Linked DNA regions of Homo sapiens: all the other regions are linked to region 4. The links are contacts of gene promoters, found by promoter capture Hi-C in blood cells and fetal thymus (Javierre and others, 2016). All regions are on one chromosome and are shown on one strand. Each heading gives the region's core, a stretch centred on a gene start or on the middle of the fragment in contact. The rest is flanking DNA. Distances are from core to core; before and after follow the strand shown.

What was found. The method cuts DNA at HindIII sites, captures the fragments that hold promoters and counts their contacts. A CHiCAGO score of 5 or more calls a contact.
Region 1: a fragment that was not itself captured here is called in contact with the fragment with the promoter of FAM98C in region 4 in 1 of 17 cell types (neutrophils); the score reaches 5.6 in neutrophils.
Region 2: a fragment that was not itself captured here is called in contact with the fragment with the promoter of FAM98C in region 4 in 2 of 17 cell types (non-activated CD4 T cells and activated CD4 T cells); the score reaches 5.1 in non-activated CD4 T cells.
Region 3: a fragment that was not itself captured here is called in contact with the fragment with the promoter of FAM98C in region 4 in 1 of 17 cell types (total B cells); the score reaches 6.8 in total B cells.

The regions. Positions count from the first base shown.
Region 1 is chr19:38,782,778-38,785,675 of GRCh38, forward strand. No RefSeq gene overlaps it. Among named protein-coding and RNA genes, the nearest start is that of LGALS7B, 5.0 kb to the right of the region's middle. The HindIII fragment of the contact is 5,003 bases long and covers 1-2,898 here.
Region 2 is chr19:38,800,526-38,803,307 of GRCh38, forward strand. LGALS4 (galectin 4) reads right to left here. Exons shown (of 10, transcript NM_006149.4): 8 at 1,791-1,879; 9 at 1,467-1,632; 10 at 1,149-1,385. The coding sequence ends at 1,239. Among named protein-coding and RNA genes, the nearest start is that of LGALS4, 11 kb to the right of the region's middle. The HindIII fragment of the contact is 4,275 bases long and covers 1-2,782 here.
Region 3 is chr19:37,893,846-37,896,720 of GRCh38, forward strand. It overlaps WDR87 (WD repeat domain 87), which reads right to left. Exons shown (of 6, transcript NM_001291088.2): 3 at 2,293-2,463; 4 at 1-1,611. LOC105372395 (a long non-coding RNA gene) reads left to right here. Exons shown (of 5, transcript XR_935962.3): 5 at 2,795-2,828. Among named protein-coding and RNA genes, the nearest start is that of WDR87, 11 kb to the right of the region's middle. The HindIII fragment of the contact is 3,479 bases long and covers 1-2,875 here.
Region 4 is chr19:38,401,739-38,404,797 of GRCh38, forward strand. It overlaps FAM98C (family with sequence similarity 98 member C), which reads left to right and starts at 1,355. Exons shown (of 8, transcript NM_174905.4): 1 at 1,355-1,480; 2 at 1,600-1,748; 3 at 1,822-1,956. The coding sequence starts at 1,416. RefSeq lists silencers at 1,142-1,471, 1,662-1,861. The HindIII fragment of the contact is 11,725 bases long and covers 303-3,059 here.

The sequences.
Region 1 (2,898 bases), core at 211-2,710, 380 kb after region 4:
GCCACTGCACTCCAGGCTGGGTGACAGGGCAAAACCACAGAGCAAGACCACTTCTTTCTTGGCTGGCTGGCTTTCTCTTTCTTTCTTTCTTTCTTTCTTTCTTTCTTTCTTTCTTTCTTTCTTTCTTTCTTTCTTTCTTTCTTTCTTCTTTCTTTCTTTCTTTCTTTCTTTCCTTCTTTCTTTCTTTTTCTTTCTTTCTTTCTTTCTTTCATCTCTCTCTCTCTTCCCTCCTTCCCTCCCTCTCTCCCTCCCTCCCTCCCTTCCTTCCTTCCTTCTCTCTCTCTTTCTTTTTGGACAGTCTTGCTCTGTCACCCAGCCTGGAGTGCAGTGGCACAAATTCTGCTCACTGCAACCTCCACCTTCTGGATTCAAGTGATTCTTGTGCCTCAGCCTACCCAGTAGCTGGGATTACAGGTGCGTGCCACCATGCCAGGCTAATTTTTTGTATTTTAGTAGAGACGGGGTTTTGCCATGTTGCCCAGGCTGGTCTTGAACTCTGGAGCTCAGGCAAACTGCCCACCTCAGCCTCCAAAGTGCTAGGATTACAGGTGTGAGCCACAGTACCTGGCCACGAGGGCATGTCTTCAAAAAAAGAGTTTTCCAGGGGTGCAAACTCAGCTTGGGGAAACCCAGTCCTATGTGAATCTAGCTACAAATAACTCTGGGAAATGTAGTTTTTAACTGCCTAATGCAAGAAAGCAGGCCAGGCTGGGTGCGGAGGTTCACGCCTGTAATCCCAGCACTTTGGGAGGCCAAGGCAGGAGGATACTTGAGTTCCAGAGTTTGAGACCAGCCTGGGCCACATAGTGAGGCATCAGCTCTACTAAAATAAAATAAAAAAAAAATTAACTGGGGGTGGTGTCACATGCCTGTAGTCCCAGCCACTTTGGCGGCTGAGGCAGGAGGATTGCTTCAGCCCAGGAGGTTGAGGCTGCAGTGCATGATGATCTTGCCTGGGCAATAGATTAAGGCCCTGTCTCAAAAAAAAAAAAAAAAAAAAAAAAAAAAAGGTGGGCCCGCTGGGGAGTGAGTTAGAAGCTGAGTAAGCCAATCTTCAGTGGTGGTTACCAAATTACTTGGAAAGATATAATTAGTTACATAGTGGGTAAATGTCTTTAACTGTGGGAACAGTTAGAATTCACTAAAAAGATTTTTACCTGTATCATTTTCATCACTGGAATGTTAATATATAAAACCAAAGGAGTCCCTGAAGTATCTTCACTGTGTTTAAAAAATAACCAAAACCACAGGGCATGGTGGCTCACACCTGTAATCCCAGTACTTTGGGAGGCCAGAAGTTGGAGGATCACTTAAGCCCAGGTTCCAGACTAGCCTGGGCAACATAGCCAGACCCTTGGCTAGGCACAGTAGTTCACATCTGTAATCCCAGCACTTTTGAAAGCTGAGGTGGGTGGATCACTTGAGGTCAGGAGTTCGAGACCAGCCTGGCCAACATGGTGAAACCCCATCTCTACTAAAAATACAAAAATCAGCCAAGAGTGGTGGTGCATGCTTGTAATCCCAGCTACTAAGTAGGCCAAGGCAAGAGAATCGCTTGAACCCAGGAGGCAGAGCTGAGATTGAGCCACTGCACTCCAGCCTGGGCAACAGAGTGAGACTCCATCTCAAAAGAAAAAAAAAAAAGAACCCATCAAGGACGTAGATCTGTTATCAGAAATGAGTCAGGACTTCGGGCTGATAACAGAGTTAATGTGCAAACCCTTGGCCAATCAGCAAAGGCACATTGGGACTTGCAGTATGTTGGCTACATGTGAAGTTACATCCAGCCACAGTGAAGCAATCACTAAAAAAAAATCAAAAATAAAACAAAAAACAATAACTCAAAATATCACTAACAAAATGGCACTGACAGAACCTGGGGTTTTAAATCCCTACAAACACTTAGTGTGCGATTAGTTACTTTTCAACTAAGTTATATCCTGAAAGAGGCCTAAAATCAGAAAAATCAGTCTGTCCCAACCCACTTTCTCATTTTCACGGCAAATGAACTTATTTTTCTTTTCTTTTCTTTTCTTTTTTTGAGACGGAATCTTGGAGTCTTGCTCTGTTGCCCAGGCTGGAGTGCAGTGGCGCGATCTTGGCTCACTGCAAGCTCCACCTCCCAGGTTCATGCCATTCTCCTGCCTCAGCCTCCTGAGTAGCTGGGACTACAGGTGCCCGCCACCACGCCTGGCTAATTTTTTGTATTTTTAGTAGAGACGGGGTTTCACCGTATTAGCCAGGATGGTCTCGATCTCCTGACCTCGTGATCCGCCCGCCTCGGCCTCCCAAAGTGCTGGGATTACAGGTGTAAGCCACCGCGCCTGGCCTTTTTTTTCTTTTTTGAGACCGAGTCTCGCTCTGTCACCCAGTCTTGAGTGCAGAGGTGCGATCTTAACTCACTGCAGCCTCCGCCTCCCAGGTTCAAGTGATTCTCTTGCCTCATCCTCCCCAGTAGCTGGGACTACAGGCAGGCGCCACGCTGTCGCATTGGCCAGGCTGGTCTCAAACTCCTGACCTCAGGTGATCCGCCCGCCTTGTTACCCAGGCTGGAGTGCAGTGGTGTGATCTTGGGTCACTGTAGCCTCCACCTCCAGGGCTCAGGTGATCCTCCTGCCCTAGCCTCCCGAGTAGCTGGGACTACAGGCACATGCCACCACAATGGATCAAAGGAAACTTTGTGGCTACTAACTGCTCAGGAGTGACAGTGGCTTCATGTGGCAGAAGGAGCAGTGACTGTTTCTAGGGGCACCAGGAAACTTGATTGGGGAGGTGGTTACACAGGTGACTATATGTGTCAAAACTCATTGAACTATTCCATTAAAATCTGAACCCTGAGCAGGGGCTCACACCTATAATCCCAGCACTTTGGGAGGCCAAAGCAGGTGGATCACTTGA
Region 2 (2,782 bases), core at 189-2,688, 400 kb after region 4:
GGATGACAAGAGCAAAACTCTGTCTCAAAAAAAAAATAAATAAAAATAAAAACAAGAAATCAATGAATGATGAAATCAGCAAAAGAGTGATTTGATGAAAGCATGGTTGGGTGGACAGATGGAGAGAAGAAAATATAAATGAATGGATAACTTTCCAGCTTGAGTTGGAAAAGGGTTGGAAAAAAATAGATAATGAAGAGATGAATGGATAATTGGATAGAAAGAGATGGAAAAGTGATGAATTGCTGAATGGAGGGATGAATGGGCATATGGAGGACAAATGGATGACTGTGATGGAAAGCAGAGAATTACATGGACAAATGGAGGGATGAATAAATGAATGGATGGACGAAAGTTAGACTTCGTAAGGATGGCTGAATGAATAGACAGATAGACTGGTATATGGTTAGATGTTTGGATGGATGGAGAAGATGATGGATGATCAGATGCATGGGTGATGGATAAAAGGTTGAATGAAAGAATGGATGGATAAACAGCTGGATAGAGCTAGACAGACTGGTGAGTAGATGAATAGTTGCATGTTTGGATGAATGGGTGAACATATGGTTGACTGGATGTTTGGAGAGATTGACGATGAGATGATGAGTGCAGAGGTAAATGGATGGGTAGATGGATAAAGGGTTGGATGAAAGGATGGTTGAACAATCAGCTCAATGGATGGATTGATGAGGTCTAGATGGTTGGATGTTTGATTGATGGATGGTTGGATGGACTTTTGGTTGGATACATGGAGAGATTGATGGATGTTGGGATACACGAGTGGAGAGATGGATGCATGGATGGATGGAACGACAGGCTGTATAGTGGTTAAGTGTGCAGATCCTTGGGAGCCAGATCAGCTGGATTTGAATCCTCCTTCTGCCATTTATGCAATGTATAATTTGGGCAATTTGTTTTATTTTCCTTTGTTTCCTCATCTGTTACAGAGGGATGATAATAATTGTTTCTACCTCTTGGGGTTGCTGTGAGAAGTGAATGAGCCCTAAATCAGTGCTTGGGGCATAACCAGATTTATGATGACAGGAGGATGGATGGTCAGATGACTGGATGGATGAAGGATAGATGAAGTGCATGACTGAACCAAGGAAGGGAAGAGTAGCCGGGGAGCAGATGGAGACACACACTCATGAGACACCCTCAGACATTTTATTAGGGGCTTAGAAAGGAGTCCTAGGGGATAATTCTGTTTTCCCATGAGTTATGGCCCCAGGAATAGATTAGATCTGGACATAGGACAAGGTGACATCACCCTGGATTTCCAATGTGTCCACCCTCTGGAAGGCCGAGAGGCGATGGGCAAAGTCAAAGAGGTGCTGGCCATTGGCGTAAACCTTGAAGCGATCCAAGCCACAGCGAATGGACAGCTGCAGGGAGAAGGGTGGGCATGAGGCCAGGGCCAGGACTGAGGCCCTGGAAGGAAGTGGGAAAAGAGAGCTCAGACTCACATCAAAGAACTGTCCGGGACCAAATGGGTTGTGGGTGATCTTCTTCTCCTCGGATCCCCACGAGCCATTCAGAAGGCTGTTCCGGACCACGGTACCGTTGCCCATGCGGGGATTAATGTGCAGAGCTATGTCCCCTGAGGAGCCCACCTTGAAGTTGATAGCAAAGCTGGGGACAGAGAGGGATGGGGGAGTCAGATGGAGTCCAGTGGGAAGAGGCCAGTGGGCTGGACCTCTGAATCCCTAAAGGAGGAGGGGACAGAGGGTCTAGATTGTTGGGTCTGAGGGAGGAGGGGGCTGGGGGTTCCCACCTAGTTTACGTTATACCTCTTGCCTGTGGGAGGCACATAGCCCTTGATGATGATGGTTCTTCGAGCTGTGAGCCCTCCTTGCAGCCTCCCGAAATATGGCACAGGCTGTGGGAAGAGAACGGGGGGTCCCATTCTCTCTCAGCTTAGCAGAGCCAGATGTGGGAAGAAATTTTCTTTTTCTTTTCTTTTCTTTCCTGTCTTTTTTTCTTATAAGAGATGGGGTCTTACTCTGTCACCCAGGCTGGAGTGCAGTGGCATGATCAAGCCTCACTGCAGCCTCAAACTGCTGGGCTCAAGCAATCCTCCCATCTCAGCCTCCCGAAGTGCTGGGATTACAGGCGTGAGCCACCACGCCCAGCCTTGCAGGAACAAAGGAACAAATTTTGTTTTTTTTTTTAGGCAGAGTCTCCCTCTGACGCCCAGGCTGGAGTGTAGTGGCATAATCTCAGCTCACTGCAACCTCTGCCTCCTAGGTTCAAGCAATTCTGCTGCCTCAGCCTTCCTAGTAGCTGGGATTACAGGTGTGCGCCACCACACCTGGCTAACTTTTGTCATTTTAGTAGAGACGGGGATTCATCATGTTGACCAGGCTGATCTGGAACTCTTGACCTCAAGTGATCCACCTGCCTTGGCCTCCCAAAGGGCTGGGATTATAGGCATGAGCCACCGTGTCTGGCCAAGAATAAATTTTCTTTTTCTTTTCTTTTTCTTTTTTTTTTTTTTTTTTTTTTTTTGAGATGGAGTCTCGTTCTGTCACCAGGTTGGAGTACTGTGGCACGATCCCGGCTCACTGCAACCTCCGACTCCCTGGTTCAAGCGATTCTCCTGCCTCAGCTTCCTGAGTAGCTGGGATTACAGGCGCGCGCCACCATGCCCAGCTAATTTTTGTATTTTTAGTAGAGACAGAGTTTCACTATGCTGGCCAGGATGGTCTCGATCGATCTCCTGACCTCGTGATCTGTCCGCCTTGGCATCCCAAAGTGCTGGGATTACAGGCGTGAGCCACCA
Region 3 (2,875 bases), core at 231-2,730, 510 kb before region 4:
ACTCAAGGAGAGGCAGACATCAAAGGATGTGATGGCACACAGGTGCAGAGGCAGTGTTTCTATGAATTTCAAGCCATTCTGTGACCCAGAGGACAGAAAATCATGGAACTTCCAGAGACGCAGGCAGTTTGTCTCTGTGATGGCACCCACAGACTTGGGCAAGAGTATCAGATGTGTTAGGTGACAGCTGCTGAGAATGCTGGCGAGAGGCCGCAGTTGTACTTTGACCCCATCAAGCACAGCTTCTGACAGGTGCACATAGTCATCCATTCCATAGGAACAGAGCAGAGAGTTTCCTTGGCCACCAAAAATCCCTCCAGACAGCGTGGAGAGTGCCAGTACAGCGCCAAAGTGCATGAATTTTTCTAATCGAGCACAGCTGTGCTGGGAGAGCACTCTTATCACACCACTCTGGTGCCCAGAGAATATCAGTCCCTCTAGACCCCGCCCCAAGTTGAAATGCCCATAAGCCAGGCATTGTACAAAGTCCTGAGAATTTGGTGAGGTGCCTAAGAGATACTTGGCTGGGCAAGGGCAGCGGGTTGTGTCAAATACCAGAACCTCTGAGCTGCCTGTTGCTACAAAGAGCTCCTCTTTACCTGGGTCGTAGGCCCAATCCACAGCCTGGTCCAGGATTGAGAAGGGCCAGGTGATAACCAGAAGGTCCCCTGTTACTGGGGACACAAAGCGCAACAAGCCATCCTCAGTGGTACACAGGATCCGGAACCAGTTATTTCCACAGCAGACCCGACGCAACTGCTGGGGAGCAGAGCCACAGACATTGAAGAGGCTGTAGAAGCAGGGCAGGCGGTGCAAGGAAAAACTATGGGCAGTTTGGCAGAAGAAAGTAATGCTGTCAATAAACTGGAGCCGGTATAGCTCCTCACCAAGCTCTAGCCGCCGAAGCAGGCTCCCTGAAGTCAGGTTCCACTCCTTGATTAGGCTGTCACTACCAGCTGTTAGCAGGGTGTGGGCCTCTGGTCGGCTGCGGATACAGATCACTCCTGATTGATGGGCCTGGAAACTGTGGAGTGGATGGCCCTGCTGGAGGCTCCAAACTTGGATTTCCCCAGCTTGGTTTCCAGCATAGAGAAAGCCCTGATCAAAACAGGTGAAGCAGCAGGTGATGGAGGAGCCGCTGCTGGTGGACGTGAACCTCTTTACCTCTCCCAGCTGGCCCTTGCCCTGGTGCATAAGGACCCTCACCACCGTCTCACACAGGGCCAGGAGGGAGCCACTGGGACCATTCAGCACGATGTCCTGGACAAGCTCATCACCTGGCATGGAGACCATGTGGGCTATTTGGAGGCCCGTGCCACCTAGCTCAATGACCCAGGTCACCACTGCCCCCAGGATGCCAGACAGAAGCATCTTCATTTCCGGGTCATAGCAGAGGCAGCTGATGTTGAAGCGGCAGGGCACTTTACCCAGGGGTTTGAATGCCCGAAAGTGGTCCCCAAAGAGTCGCAGGATCAGGTCACCACAGTAGACCACGAGGATATGAAAGGAGCCTGCATGGACCATGGACTGGATGGGTGGCAATCGTTCAGTCATGGAGAATGTTCTTTTCTCAACCATGTCCTCAGTTTTGCTCTTCATCCATGCTACAGCCTAGAAGAGAATAAGAAGGAAACTGCCTAGGCCGGGTGAGGTGGTTCATGCCTGTAATCCCAGCACTTTGGGAGGCCGAGGCGGGTGGATCACCTGAGGTCAGGAGTTCGAGAGCAGCCTGGCCAACATGGTGAAACCCCATCTCTACTAAAAATACAAAAATTAGCTGGGTGTGGTGTCGGTGCCTGTAATCCCAGCTACTCGAGAGGCTGAGGCAGGAGAATCGCTTGAATTTGGGAGGCAAAGGCTGCAGTGAGCCAAGATTGCGCCACTGCACTCCAGCCTGCGTGACAGAGCGAGACTCTGTCTCAAAAAAAAAAAAAAAAAAAAAAGATGAAACTGCCTAGAGCTGATGGTAGGGCAGAATATTCCCTTATTTCCCCATGTTTTATGTTAAGGAGGAATTGGAGGACTCAAGTGATTTTATCCCTTGGTGATGGGAATTGGAAATACGGTAGAGGCAGGAATCCTAGGACCCTTTTCCTAACCTTGGTTTACTTCGGGGGAACCATACAACCTACTCAACATGGGGACTATAATTGGAGAAAGGATGAGGAGAGATTTCTGGTTCCAGACCACATTCATCCATGGGGAATATCCTCCTTTGTCAATCTGGGCTAACAGTTATATGGGCATGGCTCTTGGAGAATGGGCCAAGAAGGGTAAGAAAGGCAGTCTTACTTGTATTTCTTTTGTGTTTGATGTCACCCAAGAGAGGGAGGCGAAGAAGTGGGCATCACTGAAGTAATAGCATACACACGGCATATTTTGAGGATAGCGAGACTCTTTGAACAGTACCTGGGACCGGTCACTCAGCACAATCAGGCAGTTCTTTGGGTCTTCCGAAGGTTGCTGGAGAGAGGCGTGGCATAAACTAAGAGGCCAGGGCACAGAGGCACTAAATATATTCTCGCACAAGTCACAGTTGGAGCAGTTCCCAAAGTCATGCTTCCCACCCGAAGGACCTACTCCTGTTACACTCACACGTGCATAACTTATCACCTGTGGCACAGCTATACTTCACAAGCATGTAACAAATCCCCCAATGCATGAGGGAACACAACCCTGCAGAGTCTCTGTGTGCAAATTTCATAGTGTGAACACAGGGAAAAATGATGTTCTTTTCAACATGAAGTTAGCCATGCCTGCCCTCTAACATTCTTTTTTTTGTTTTGTTTTTTAGATGGAGTCTCTTTCTGTTGCCCAGGCTGGAATGCAGTAGCGTGATCTCAGCTCACTGCAACCTCTACCTCCCAGGTTCAAG
Region 4 (3,059 bases), core at 105-2,604:
AACCCTTTGCCTGATTCCTAGGGTGTAATCTCTTAACCACTATGGTGCATTGCACCTGCTCACTCCAAGGCCTAAGAGGGAGAGGAGTGAAGGCCTAACAGGCACATCGTGATCGATGAGGAGGGCCTGGTGTGTGAGGGGTGTGCTGGGATTCCTGGGTCCCTTATGTAATTCAAACCCTGAGGTGGAAAGGAGGGAGGAAGTTTTGGATTTTAGGCAGAGTTGGGTGAACACCACTCCGTCTGGGCTGCTTTAAGAGCAGAGGACAGGGCCAGGAACACTGGCTCAAGCCTGTAATCCCAAGCTTTGGAAGGCTGAGAGGGAAGGATTGCTTGAACACTGGAGTTAGAGGCAAACCTGGGCGACATAGCTAGACCCCTCTCTACAAAACTTTATTTCTTTTTTGACACGGAGTCTTGCTCTGTCCCCAGGCTGGAGTGCAGTGGCGCGATCTTGGCTCACTGCAGTCTGTGTCTCCCGGGCTCAAGCAATTCTCCTGCCTCAGCCTCCCAAATAGTGGTGACTACAGGCGTGTGCCACCACGCCCGGCTAATTTTTGTATTTTTATTAGAGATGAGGTTTCACCATGTGCCCAGGCTGGTCTCGAACTCCTGACCTCAAGTGATCCACCCACCTCAGCCTCCCAAAGTGCTGGGATTACATGCGTGAGCCACCGTGCCCGGCCTCTACAAAACTTTAAAAAAAAAAAAAAATTGGCCGGTTGCAGTGGCTCACGCCTGTAATTCCAGCACTTTGGGAGGCCGAGGCAGGCGGATCGCTTGAACCCAGCAGTTGGAAACCAGGCTGGGCAACATGAGGAAACCTTGTCTCTACAAAAAAATTAAAAACAAATCAGCCAGGCGCGGTGGTCTGCGCCTGTGGTCCCAGCTACTAGGTGTAAGCCACCAAGGCTGACTGATTTTTAAAAATTTAGCTGGGAGGCTGAGGCGGGAGGATCTCTTGAGCCCAGAAGGTCGAGACTGCAGTGAGCCGCGATGGCGCCACTGCAGTCCAGCCTGAACGATAGAGCGAAATCTGCCTCAAAAACAAACCAACAAAACACCAGCAGAAGACAACTGAGGGAGGAAAAGGAAAATGGCACCGAAGTTGTTTTTATGTCGCCGCAACAGTGACACCCGCCGCCAGCTTGTCTTGACAGCGGAGATCCCGAACGCACTGCAATTTACAGCTCCAGGGGGCGTTCCTACAACCCCGACAGGTTAGCCGAGGGGCGGGGCGGGCGGGCCCCGGGGCGGGTTCGGCGTCCTCCTGCGCCAATGGGAGCACCCAAGCCCCTGCGCGGGAAGATGCCGATTGGTCAGTGCCGCCGGACGCTGCGGGGAGCTCGTGCGCGCGGCGCTTTTGGGGCGGAGCCTGCCACCGGCCGCCAGGGGGCGCGCCGAGACCACACTTTCATGGAGGCGGTGAAGGCGGAAGCGTGGGAGGGGGCCGCGGTGGCCCAGGACCTGCTGGCTCTGGGGTAAAAGGGTGTGCGGTGAGGCTGGTGGGTGCAGGAAGGCCAGGTCTGCCCCCTGGACGCGGACGAAAAGGGATTCCCAGTGACATCCCCGCCCCCTCCCGCTGCCTCGGTCCCCACAGGTATGGAGGTGTCCCGGGGGCGGCGTCGCGGGGCGCCTCATGCCCAGACTTCAGGGGGCTGTGCGTGCGGCTGGCGGCGGAGCTGGCGACGCTGGGCGCCCTCGAGCAGCAGCGAGAGGCGGGCGCGGAGGTGCTGAGCGCCGGCGACGGTAAACACGGAGCGGGAGGGTGGCAGGGGGGCCGCCACGGGGCCACCGAGCCCTGACACCCCTGTCCTCGCAGGCCCTGGCGCGGAGGAGGACTTTCTGCGGCAGCTCGGCAGCCTGCTGCGGGAGCTGCACTGCCCGGATCGCGCGCTCTGCGGCGGGGATGGCGCGGCTGCGCTTCGGGAACCCGGTGCCGGACTGCGCCTGCTGCGTGAGTCCCGGGATGCAGAAGTGGCAAGGCCATGGCCTCCGGAGCGGCGGGCTCTGACTTTTTAGGGGAAATCGAGGTTCCCAAGGGGTGTGGTCAGAACTTTGGGGCGGCCCAGAGGGTACGAGGTGGGTGGGGTGAGCATGTTGGGGCAAGCAGAGCGCTCTAAAATGGGCGGGGGTAGAATTTCGTTTTATTTTTTATTTATTTTATTATTATTATTTTTGAGATGGAGTTTCACTCTTGTTACCCAAGCTGGAGTGCAGTGGCGTGATCTCGGCTCACTGCAACCTCCACCTCCCAGGTTCAAGTGATTCTCTTGCCTCAGCCTCCCGAGTAGCTGGGATTACAGGCGCGCGACACCACACTCGGCTATTTTTAGTAGAAACGGGGTTTCACCATGTTAGCCAGGCAGGTCTCGAACTCCTGACCCCAGGTGATCTGTCCACCTCGGCCTCCCAAAGTGTTGGGATTACAGGCGTGAGCCCACCACGCCCGGCCCGGGGTTAGAATTTTAATTGGAGGGCCTAGGAGCTCAAGTGGGTTGGATTAGGAGGAAGGCTTGAGGTTTCAAAGTGGGCAGGAGTGGAATTCGTAGGAGGGGACAGGGTCTCAAGGTGGGGCTTACTCTGGAAGGCTTTAGGTGGGGGGGACTAGAAGGTGGAGGATTTTGTTTTGTTTTGTTTTTAAGTGGAGGTGGGGTCTCCCTATGTTGCCCTGTCTGGTCTTCAACTCCTGGCTTCAAGCGATCCTCCCACCTCAGCCTCCCAAGGTGTTGGGATTACAGGCTACAGGCATGAGCCACTGTGCCTGGGCAAAGGTGGAGGTTTTAAAGCCGGTGGAGCCTCTTTTTTTTTTGAAATGGAGTCTCGCCCTGTTGCCAGGCTGGAGTACAGTGACATGATCTCAGCTCACTGCAACCTCCAACTTCCTGGTTCAAGCGATTTTCCTGCTTCAGCCTCCCGAGTAGCTGGGATTACAAGCACTCACCACTATGTCCTGCTAATTTTTGTATTTTTAGTAGAGACACAGTTTCACCATGTTGGCCAGGCTGGTCTCCATCTCCTGACCTCGTGATCCGCCCGCCTCTGCCTCCCAAAGTGCTG